Regions from separate parts of the Homo sapiens genome. Here regions 1 and 3 are each linked to region 2. Evidence: promoter capture Hi-C in 16 types of primary human blood cells and fetal thymus (Javierre and others, 2016). All regions are on one chromosome and are shown on one strand. Each heading gives the region's core, a stretch centred on a gene start or on the middle of the fragment in contact. The rest is flanking DNA. Distances are from core to core; before and after follow the strand shown.

Evidence for each region. The method cuts DNA at HindIII sites, captures the fragments that hold promoters and counts their contacts. A CHiCAGO score of 5 or more calls a contact.
Region 1: a fragment that was not itself captured here is called in contact with the fragment with the promoter of SLC41A2 in region 2 in 4 of 17 cell types (naive CD8 T cells, naive B cells, total B cells and 1 more); the score reaches 6.9 in naive CD8 T cells.
Region 3: a contact is called between a fragment that was not itself captured here and the fragment with the promoter of SLC41A2 in region 2, in 2 of 17 cell types (naive B cells and total B cells). The highest score is 5.7, in naive B cells.

Annotation. Positions count from the first base shown.
Region 1 is chr12:104,684,390-104,687,431 of GRCh38, reverse strand. The region is part of intron 2 of CHST11 (carbohydrate sulfotransferase 11); the gene reads right to left. Among named protein-coding and RNA genes, the nearest start is that of MIR3922, 94 kb to the right of the region's middle. The HindIII fragment of the contact is 6,908 bases long and covers 1-3,042 here.
Region 2 is chr12:104,956,827-104,959,789 of GRCh38, reverse strand. SLC41A2 (solute carrier family 41 member 2) reads left to right here and starts at 1,500. Exons shown (of 11, transcript NM_001352171.3): 1 at 1,500-1,702. RefSeq lists silencers at 1,322-1,591, 1,782-2,111. The HindIII fragment of the contact is 5,296 bases long and covers 406-2,963 here.
Region 3 is chr12:104,666,505-104,669,540 of GRCh38, reverse strand. All of the region lies in intron 2 of CHST11 (carbohydrate sulfotransferase 11), which reads right to left. Among named protein-coding and RNA genes, the nearest start is that of MIR3922, 76 kb to the right of the region's middle. The HindIII fragment of the contact is 3,754 bases long and covers 1-3,036 here.

The sequences.
Region 1 (3,042 bases), core at 309-2,808, 270 kb after region 2:
AAAGCGCTTCACATGGTGTGTGGTACATAGTAAGTGCTCAATAAATGAGAACCATTGTTATTAACCATCACTATTGCTGTATTGTCCAGGATTTATACACATTTACTTAGTGCCTCTGATGTGTAAGGTGCTTTTACGAATTCAGTCAACAACCCTTGGCTTGACCACCCAAATGAGAACAAGGTGTAAAGCACTTGGATGCTAAAAAAACAAAATAGTTCCAGAAGAGCTGGTGAGGGGCATGGGCCCTGCTGACTGCCCAGTGCAACTTCTGAATCCTAGGCCCTATTGCAACCACTCTTAGCACTTGGCAAGGCCAGAAAGGTTGCTGTGTTAACTGTAGGTTTGTGGCATCTATACAGAAGGACCATGAGCCTTGGCAGTTGGGACCTGCACAATGCTCAAACCAATCCCTGTAGAGAGAGAGAGATGCAAACTGATCCAAAATATACAATTTTAAAACAAAACAAAAAGAAACAAGAATGGCCAGGTGTGGTGGCTCACACCTGTAATCCCAGCACTTTGGGAGGCTGAGGTGGGTGGATCACCTGAGGTCAGGAGTTTGAGACCAGCCTGACCAACGTGGTGAAACCCTGCTTCTGCTAAATACAAAAAAATTAGCCAGGCGTGGTGGCGGGTGCCTGTAGTCCCAGCTACTTGGGAGGCTGAGGCAGGAGAATTGCTTGAGCCTGGGAGGCGGAGGTTACGGTGAGCTGAGATCGCGCCACTGCACTCCAGCCTGGGCAACAAGAATGAAACTCCGTCTCCAACCAAACAAACAAAACAAATAAATAAAATAAACCAGAACAACAACAAACTAAAGGCTCTACTTAGCAGTTACTTTGTAACTTTTGATACAGTAGCAGCCACAGTTGCAAATCTTGTCCAGAAGTCCTACAATTTTAAATAAATAGCCAACAGGAAGTGACACATAGTAACTGAATTTGTGTGGGCCTAGTACCAGATTCAAGTTTCTCATCCTTTATTCCAGCAATCATCAACCAACTTTCTAGTCTTTACTGTCTTCTGCACCTGAGTGAGCAGAGGACTCTCTCTCAGAGCACAGCTGTCCCACATTCTGGCACCTGGAATCAGTCAGCCAAGCGCTGGATCAGCGGCTAAGCAGCTGTCCATTAGACTCCTAGGAAAAGTCAGGTCAACCCTATGAATCACTATGTTGTCTTTTTTTTTTTTTTTTTAAGAGGTGAGTTCTCCCTTTGTGATCACGTTGAAGTGCAGTGGTGGGACCATAGTTCACTATAGCCTCCAAACTCGGGCTCCAGCGATTCTCCTGCCTCAGGCTTCTGAGTAGCTAGGACTACGGGTATGCACCACCATGCCCAGCTAATTTTTTAAAAATGTTTTCGTAGAGATGAGGGTCTCACTAAGGCTGCCTAGGCTGGTCTCAAACTCCTGGCCTCAAGTGGTCCTCCCACTTTGAACTCCTAAAGTGTTGTGATTATTGGTGTAAGCCACTGTGCCCAGCCTATAGAAATGTTTTGCACGAATTTCTGGAACCATCAGAAAACACCAGAGTCTGCCAGAGAAGTCCCCAAATAGCACAGGAATAAATGGCATAAAATATTAATAATTCATGTCTCAGCAAGGGAATAGGCAGAGAACACATGTTCAGCACCAGCAGTGCCAGGAGCTGTTATTTTGACCTAACTTGCTCCAAATGAAAGTCCAGACACAATCTCTCACACAAAATTCTTCACCGGCTCAACCATAACAAGAATAGTCCCTAATAGCATTTATTAAGTGCTATTATGTGCCAAGCACCCCACATACATTAAACATATAATCCTCACAGTAGTCCTACAGGCAAGTGTTCATCTAGGTGATGGAAATGGAGCTCAACTAGGCTGAGAGACTTGCCTGAGGTCACACATTTAATGAGTATTTGAATCCCTGGTCGCCAACCCATACATTATGTCTTAATGATGAATATTCAAAAATGGAGAAAAGGTGTTCAAAATTTATCATTGGTATAAATCATGGTATAACTTTTCTCAATAAAAAGCACCTGTGTAACTTGAGATGAGCATCTGCATTAAAAGTCATAAAATAAGTTTAGGTTTCTTATACCAAACAACCTAATTTGCTTATATATAAATATCAAGGGATAGAAGAGCAGAATTTCAAGCCAAATTGAATAAAAAGCATGCAGTAACATCGCACCTCAGCCCTCTCAGGAGGCTATATATTAAGATTTTTTTAGGCCTTACACCTAATGCTTCTGGAGCAATGAGACAGATGAGGTTTTGCAGATTTACTTCAGCATAAATTAATGCTAACCATCTGGATGGATAAGATAACCAAATAGCCATAAAATCTTGGCAACCTCCAATGTAAGAAAAATTGCTTGGGAGCTGAGAGGAGGAACAAAATCCATGCAGAGTTTGTTGGAGGAATGCCAAAGTGATCATAGAGTTTACTAAGATTTTGACTTACTCTTGCACTTTAATCATAATATATTTGCAGCATGGGGGATTAGAGGCAGTCTTTGGAGGGAAGAGGTTGCATAGAAAATAATTCCTTATAGCTGCAGAGCACCTTGACTGAACAAAGGTGTTTTGGGGCTGGGTGTGGTGGTGGCTCATGCCTGTAATCCCAGCACTTTGGGAGGCCGAGGCGGGCAGACCACTTGAGGTCAGGAGTTCGAGACTAGACTGGTCAACATGGTGAAACCCTGTCTCTACTAAAAATACAAAAAATTAGCCAGGCATGGTAGTGCATGCCTGTAATCCCAGCTACTTGTGAAGCTGAGGCAGGAGAATCACTTGAACCTGGGAGGCAGAGGTTGCAGTCAGCTGAGATCGCGCTACTGCACTCCAGCCTGGGTAACAGAGTGAGACTCCGTCTCTAACAAAACCAAACCAAACCAAACCAAACCATATCAAACAAAACAAAGGTGTCTTGGCTTTCAGTTTGAGCTTTCTAATAGCCTTTGGAGCCATGGAGGGGCAGGGTGTACCATCCCCTTTTTACAGATGATAGAGTTGGGCTCAAAGAAGCTGAGTAGCTCTGCCATTCAAGGCC
Region 2 (2,963 bases), core at 251-2,750:
AATCTTGAAAGACTACACACTCAGGGGAGGAACACATATTGGGTGGAACTTCTGCCAAACTTTCAAGAGCAGCTACTTTCTAATGATCTGTAATTCAAAAAACAACCAGAACAAAAACCAGCTGGAAATGCAGTCAAAACACTGCTTTTCCATATTCCTTGCAATTATACTTTCATTTTTAGGTGGTGAGGAACACCAGGATGAGTCATTATAAAAAGCATGACTGCAGATGGCCAAGAGTGATACCGAAGCACCCTTCACCCTGAAGGTTAAGGTTAAAGCTCAAAGTCTGATCGCAAAGCATAAGGAAAAAAAAAAAGAACATGGATAAATGTATGCTGGTGTCCTTCAGCACCAGAAAAGCTGCTACTAAATCACTGGTGTGGCTTGGAATTGGTAGAAGCTTTGATTTGAGGAAAAGAGTATCATTAGCTGTGTAATTTTGAGTTGTTGTTTTAGAGACAAGGTCTCATTTTGTGGCCCAGACTGGAGTGCAGTGATGCGATCATAGCCCGCTGCAGCCTTGAACTCCTGGGCTCAGGCGATCCTCCCACCTCAGTCTCCTAGCCACTCCAGGTCTCGCTGTGTTTGCCCAGGCTGGTCTCAAATTCCTGGCCTCAAGCGATCCTCTCGCCTGGTCCTCCCGAAGTGTTGAGGTTACACGCATGAGCCACCAATCCTGGCATTATGGCATTAGCTGTGTAATTTTTAAAATAACTGTCTTCGGACCAACACCTTTCTTTTGTTCACTGGAGTATCCCTGGGGTGTGTCTCATTCCCTGAATCATACACAGTAGATGCTCAATAGTTTTGTAAATAAAATAAATGAGCTCTCGGATTTACATGCAGACTTTGGATCAGTTTGATCTAGGTTTAAAAGCAAGTGTGGGGAAACTTGAAAAGCCTGGCACCCCAGCCAACTCTTCAGCGCCCCATGCGCTTGGCGCCTACACCTGCCTGGCACGGGGAGGGTGCTATGGGGCTGCCCTAAACCTCACCCCCTCCTGCGGTGGTTCCTGCCCGTCTCGGCTCCTGCACCGCCCACACTATGCGCTGCTGGGCCGAAAGACACGTGGTTCGGTTTTAACTCCAGTCTGCAAGAAACATGACCTCAGCCAAAAAGAGGCCGCTGGTCTGAGAAGAGAAATCATGAGTCATGGATTCGGGGGTTCGGACCTTGGAGCAGGCGGTGAAGTGGGCGTGCGTGGGCTGGTGGGGAAGAGGGATGCCGAAGGAGGCCACAGCCCTTCTCTCCTGGGCAGGCTCCCCAGAAAACTGCCCCCTTGCCGTCATCCAGCGCCCCCGTTCCCGACAGCTGTCTGCCAGGGCGCGGCCGGGGTCCGGGCGGGGCGGTGCTGTCGCTCCGGGTCGCCGCCCCGCGGGCCACATCACCAAGGCCCGGGCTTCCCCGGCGGCGGCGCGGCTGCGCTTGCGCGGGGCTGCCGCGCGGGGGCGGGGCGGCGGGGAGTCAGGGGGCCGCGGGCGCCGACGGCCGGGCTGTCAGCTTGGGGCCGCAGCCGCGCGAGGAGGCGCGGGAGCAGGAAGGAGCTGTGGGCTGGGAGCCGCTGTCCTCCCCGCCACCACCGGTGCCGGGCACCAGGTGAATGCCCCTTCCATCCCCCGCCCCTGGTGTCTCGGTCTGGTCTGAGGAGACGGGGACCCTTCTCACACCGGCCGCTGCCGCCGCCGCGCTCCGGAACAGGTGACCATGGAGGGGAAGTCTCGGCTTCGGCCGCGGCGCCGCGTTCGGGCGCATCAGGTGCGGGAGGGAGGTGGGGCCGAGAGGCCTGGGCTCGGGACCCGGCGGCGGGGGCGCGGGGAGCAGAGGGAGCGGCCCCGCCCGAGCAGCCGTGCCCCCTGCGGACGCCTCTCCGGGCCGCCGGGCAGCGCCCGAGCCCAGGCCCCCGCGCCTGCCCCACCTCGGGCTGAGGGAAGCTGTTCCGCGGCCACCGCGGACAAGCGGTCCCGGGCGCCCAAGGCAGGGACAGGCGGCGGGTGGTGTATGAGTGATGGCTGAAGGTGAGCTGGGATGGAGATGCTGCGAGGCTGGCTCGGGCACACCCCAGATGCCTGTTCAGGGCTCCGCGAGTGCCCCGTCACCCTTTTCTTTCATTCTTCTCTTTATATACACGGAGCATATCTCAAATTTAAAAGCCCAAATGCTCATTTACAGAGAGAGATGACACATATCTATGTGTTACCGATATACATTGATGTGTATATTACGTATATATGTCATCTTTTTTTTGTAGTGACAATTTTTAAATTGAGATATACATCACATGCCATAAAACTCATTCTTCTAAAGTGTGGCTTTTAATATATTCACAGAGTTTTCCAAATATGACCACTATCCAGATCATCATCCCCAAAAGAAACCCTGTCTCTCTTAGTAATCACTCCTCATTTCCCCTTGACCCCACCCCACTAGCCACCACTAATCTACTTTCTGTTTATATGGGTTTGCCTGTTGTGGAAATCTCATATAAATGGAAGCGTACAATATGTGGCTTTTTGTGTCTGGCGTCGAAAGACATACTGTAATGTTTTCAAGTTTCACTCATGTAGTATGTATCAGTACTTTACTTTTTATAGCATATTAATATTGTTGTATCAGTGTACCACATTTGTTTATTCATCAGTTGATGTACATTTGGGTTGTTTCCAGTTTTTGGCCATTGTGTGTAATGCTGCTATGCACATTTGTTTACACGTTTTTGTGGACATGTGTTTTCAGTGCTCTTGGGTATATACCTAGGAGGGCAATTGCTCCGTGTTTCACTTTTTGAGGAACTGCCAAGCAAAGCAGCTGTACCATTTTACTTTCCCACTAAGCAGTGTATGAGGGTTCCGATTTCTTCACATCTTCCCCAAGGCTTGTTACTTTTTTACTGGTTATTTTTTATGATAGCCATCGTAGTGAGTGTGGAATGGTATCTCTTTGTGGTTTTGATTTGCATTTC
Region 3 (3,036 bases), core at 121-2,620, 290 kb after region 2:
ACGTTTATGAATGAACAAAACCTCAGCGAATGCACCCAGGTCTGGAGGCCTGCATTCAGAATCCGGCCTCGGGGACAGTGGAAAGACCTAGAAGCATCCCTTTTCAAGGGGGAAAAAAAATCATTTGCACCATTTCTGAGAGCTGCAGGGGGAATGGATTCAAAACAAGCAAAGCTCTCCAAATAGCGATAAATACCTTAAATTACCCAGCAAGTTTAAAAGCCTTCATGCTGCTCTTTTTCCCAGTGCAGAACAGGCTCCTGATTGTGGCTGTTTAGAATGGAACATTCAGGAGGGCGTGGAGCTGGCGGGGCAGGAGAAGGGGAGGGGAGTGTGAGGAGGGGAGGAAAAACGCTCTGGCTGCCCGGGAACATTCACCCAGCTGGCTGGCAGGAGACACAGCGGGCGATTGTGCGAGCCTGTGCTTGCAGAGGGGTGCGTACGTCTAACGCACGCTGCAGTGGGGACTTCCTCAGTGCCTGGGGGCCGTGTTCCTTGCCCACAGAAATGGGGAGAAAGAAATGTCAGGGCTAATGTGGCTTCTCAAGGAGGCCTTCATTTCTGGAACCCAGAGTTGCCTGGGGGCCGTGTTCCTTGCCCACAGAAATGGGGAGAAAGAAATGTCAGGGTTAATGTGGCTTCTCAAGGAGGCCTTCATTTCTGGAACCCAGAGTTGCCTGGGTCTTCTCTGTGTTCTTACAGGAAAACAACTGTATTGGTTCCAAAGAGAACAGTTTGCTGAGGGCTGTGACTATCAGAATCTCATTCCCTCCAAATAGCAAGAGTCTGGGGTTTCTCCCTCTTCCGCCATGACCCATACATCTATGGGGGTTGCTGCCATCGGACAGACTGGTATGAATTAGTGCTATCCACCCGGGGGGATAATAAACGTCGGAACTAGGGGACGATAAATGTTCACAGGCAAGACAGCTGGAAAGACCTGGAATGCCTCTTCCCTTCTGCACAACACAGCTAATCTCCAGCCCCAGATAAGATAAACATGCTTTATGGGGACTGTATTCAGTTGCCCACTTGTGTGGTCAGCTGCAGCTCAGGGAGCTGCACTCACAAGTCCTTCAGCTGACCCAGCTGACGTCCCAACGCAGTGTGTTCTGTGTTGTCATGGTGTCTCGGGAGTGGGTTTAACACCCGTGACCTTAGAGGAGTTACAGAGATGCTCCACATACGGAAACTGGATAATGACATAATCTACTACCCAGGGTTGTTCTGGAGAGTGAGTTAACATGTATCATGTGCTCACCGCTTCCTGGGGGCTTCCTTTGTGGCAGGCACTTTTTAATATAAGACTTGGCATGGATAATCTCATTTAGTCCCTATATGACCCTATGAGGGGTGCTCATAAATACTGTCCTCACTTTCTTATTGTGTAAACTGACTTCCAGGGAAGTTAAGTCGTTAGCTCAAGGTCACACAGCCAGGGTATATGGTGTGGGGGTAAGCCAGGGGTGGTACCGGGATTGGAACCCAAGTATTCTTACTCCAGCTTCTGTGGGTTGGCTCTACTGGCTAGACTCCCTCCTAAAGACAAAACCCCATGAATCCAGTTCCTTTAGAATTAGTGGTTTCAATCCTGACTAGGCACACAAATCATCTCTGAGGATTTTAAAAACCATGAACTCATGGGTGCATACCCCTAGAGATTCTGATTCCGTGGGTCTGGGTGTCTAAGGTGTTTGAAAGCTCGCCAGGTGCTTTGGATGTGCAGCTGCAATAACCAGCATCACCAGAGACCTTAGGTGGTGCTAAGAAGCTGACAGGCAGCATCTCATTCCATCCTCACAACCAGCCTGAGGTAGGTCCATGACTTGCTTGCTTTACCGATGAGGAAACTGAGGCCCAGAGGAATTCATAGCTCCCCTAAGGTCATGAAATGAGCAGAAAGCAGAGTCTGGATGCATGCGGAAGTCCTAGCTCCAACACTGGATGGAAATGCAGATGAAAAAGTTAGGACCACTCGTCTAAAACCATCCTGTGTCCACTTGGCTCCTTCCCAAATGACGGCCAAAATTCTGTCCCTGATTGAGATGCAAGGTAAGGACTGGGATGAAACTCCAAAAGCTGGAGTTTTAAGGAACATATATGTTGTCATCCAATGACATTTATCTGGAGCCGGATCAGTATCTAGCAAAACCAAGGCTAGATTGCACAACCTTGGTGTGTAATCTGGAACACACAGTGAGCTGAGTGAGGCTGGACGACTTTCATTTCTCATTACCAGAAGCGTGGTGGGGGAATAAGGACACCTGTAGGTCTCCGTGGTGCCAAAGTGCTGTCAACTTCTAATGAGACGGCCTGGAAGAATCTTAAAAGTTTGCAGTCAATAGCTCAGGCCAAATGACTGTTAAAAACCAGACTCTGCTGGACCAAATTCACGGAACTGAATAATTCTTGTGGACAGGGTCAGGGTCACTTACCTCTCAAAATAACTTCGTATCATTTAACATAAGTTCTGTCAATGAAAATGAATGACTATGTTCATGAAGAACTATCAGGTCAACTGGAATGTTCTGCTCAACAAGCGTTTTAAAGGTACCTCCTATTTGCCAGGCCCCATGCCATACACTGGCAGGAGTGTGATGCAGACAGAGTCCTGGCCAGCTACCCTGGGCATAGTTTTGGGGGATGGCAAGGGGCAACGACTTATCTGTTCTGGCTCACTCCAGACCCCACCGCACACGGTACTGTAGAACGGTGAAAAAAGGGGTTATCAGACCTTGCCCCGCCTCTCTGATGAGGTACCTGATCCCAGCTCTACTGTTCCACACAGGACTTCCCTAGCTTCTCCTTCTCTCCCTTCCCTTTCCTTCCATCTTTTTTCAATCAGGAAACATTTGTTGGCCATCCACTGTATTTCAGAGTAAATCTGTATTTCAGGCATGTGGAGCCTTGGATACTGAATTTGAATACCAATGCAGCAGGACACTGGTATTATTCCATCCCATTTTATTCTTCCATCATCGCACCCTCTAGAATTCAACACGCAGACAGAGGCAAACGAGTTGCAAAAACACAGAG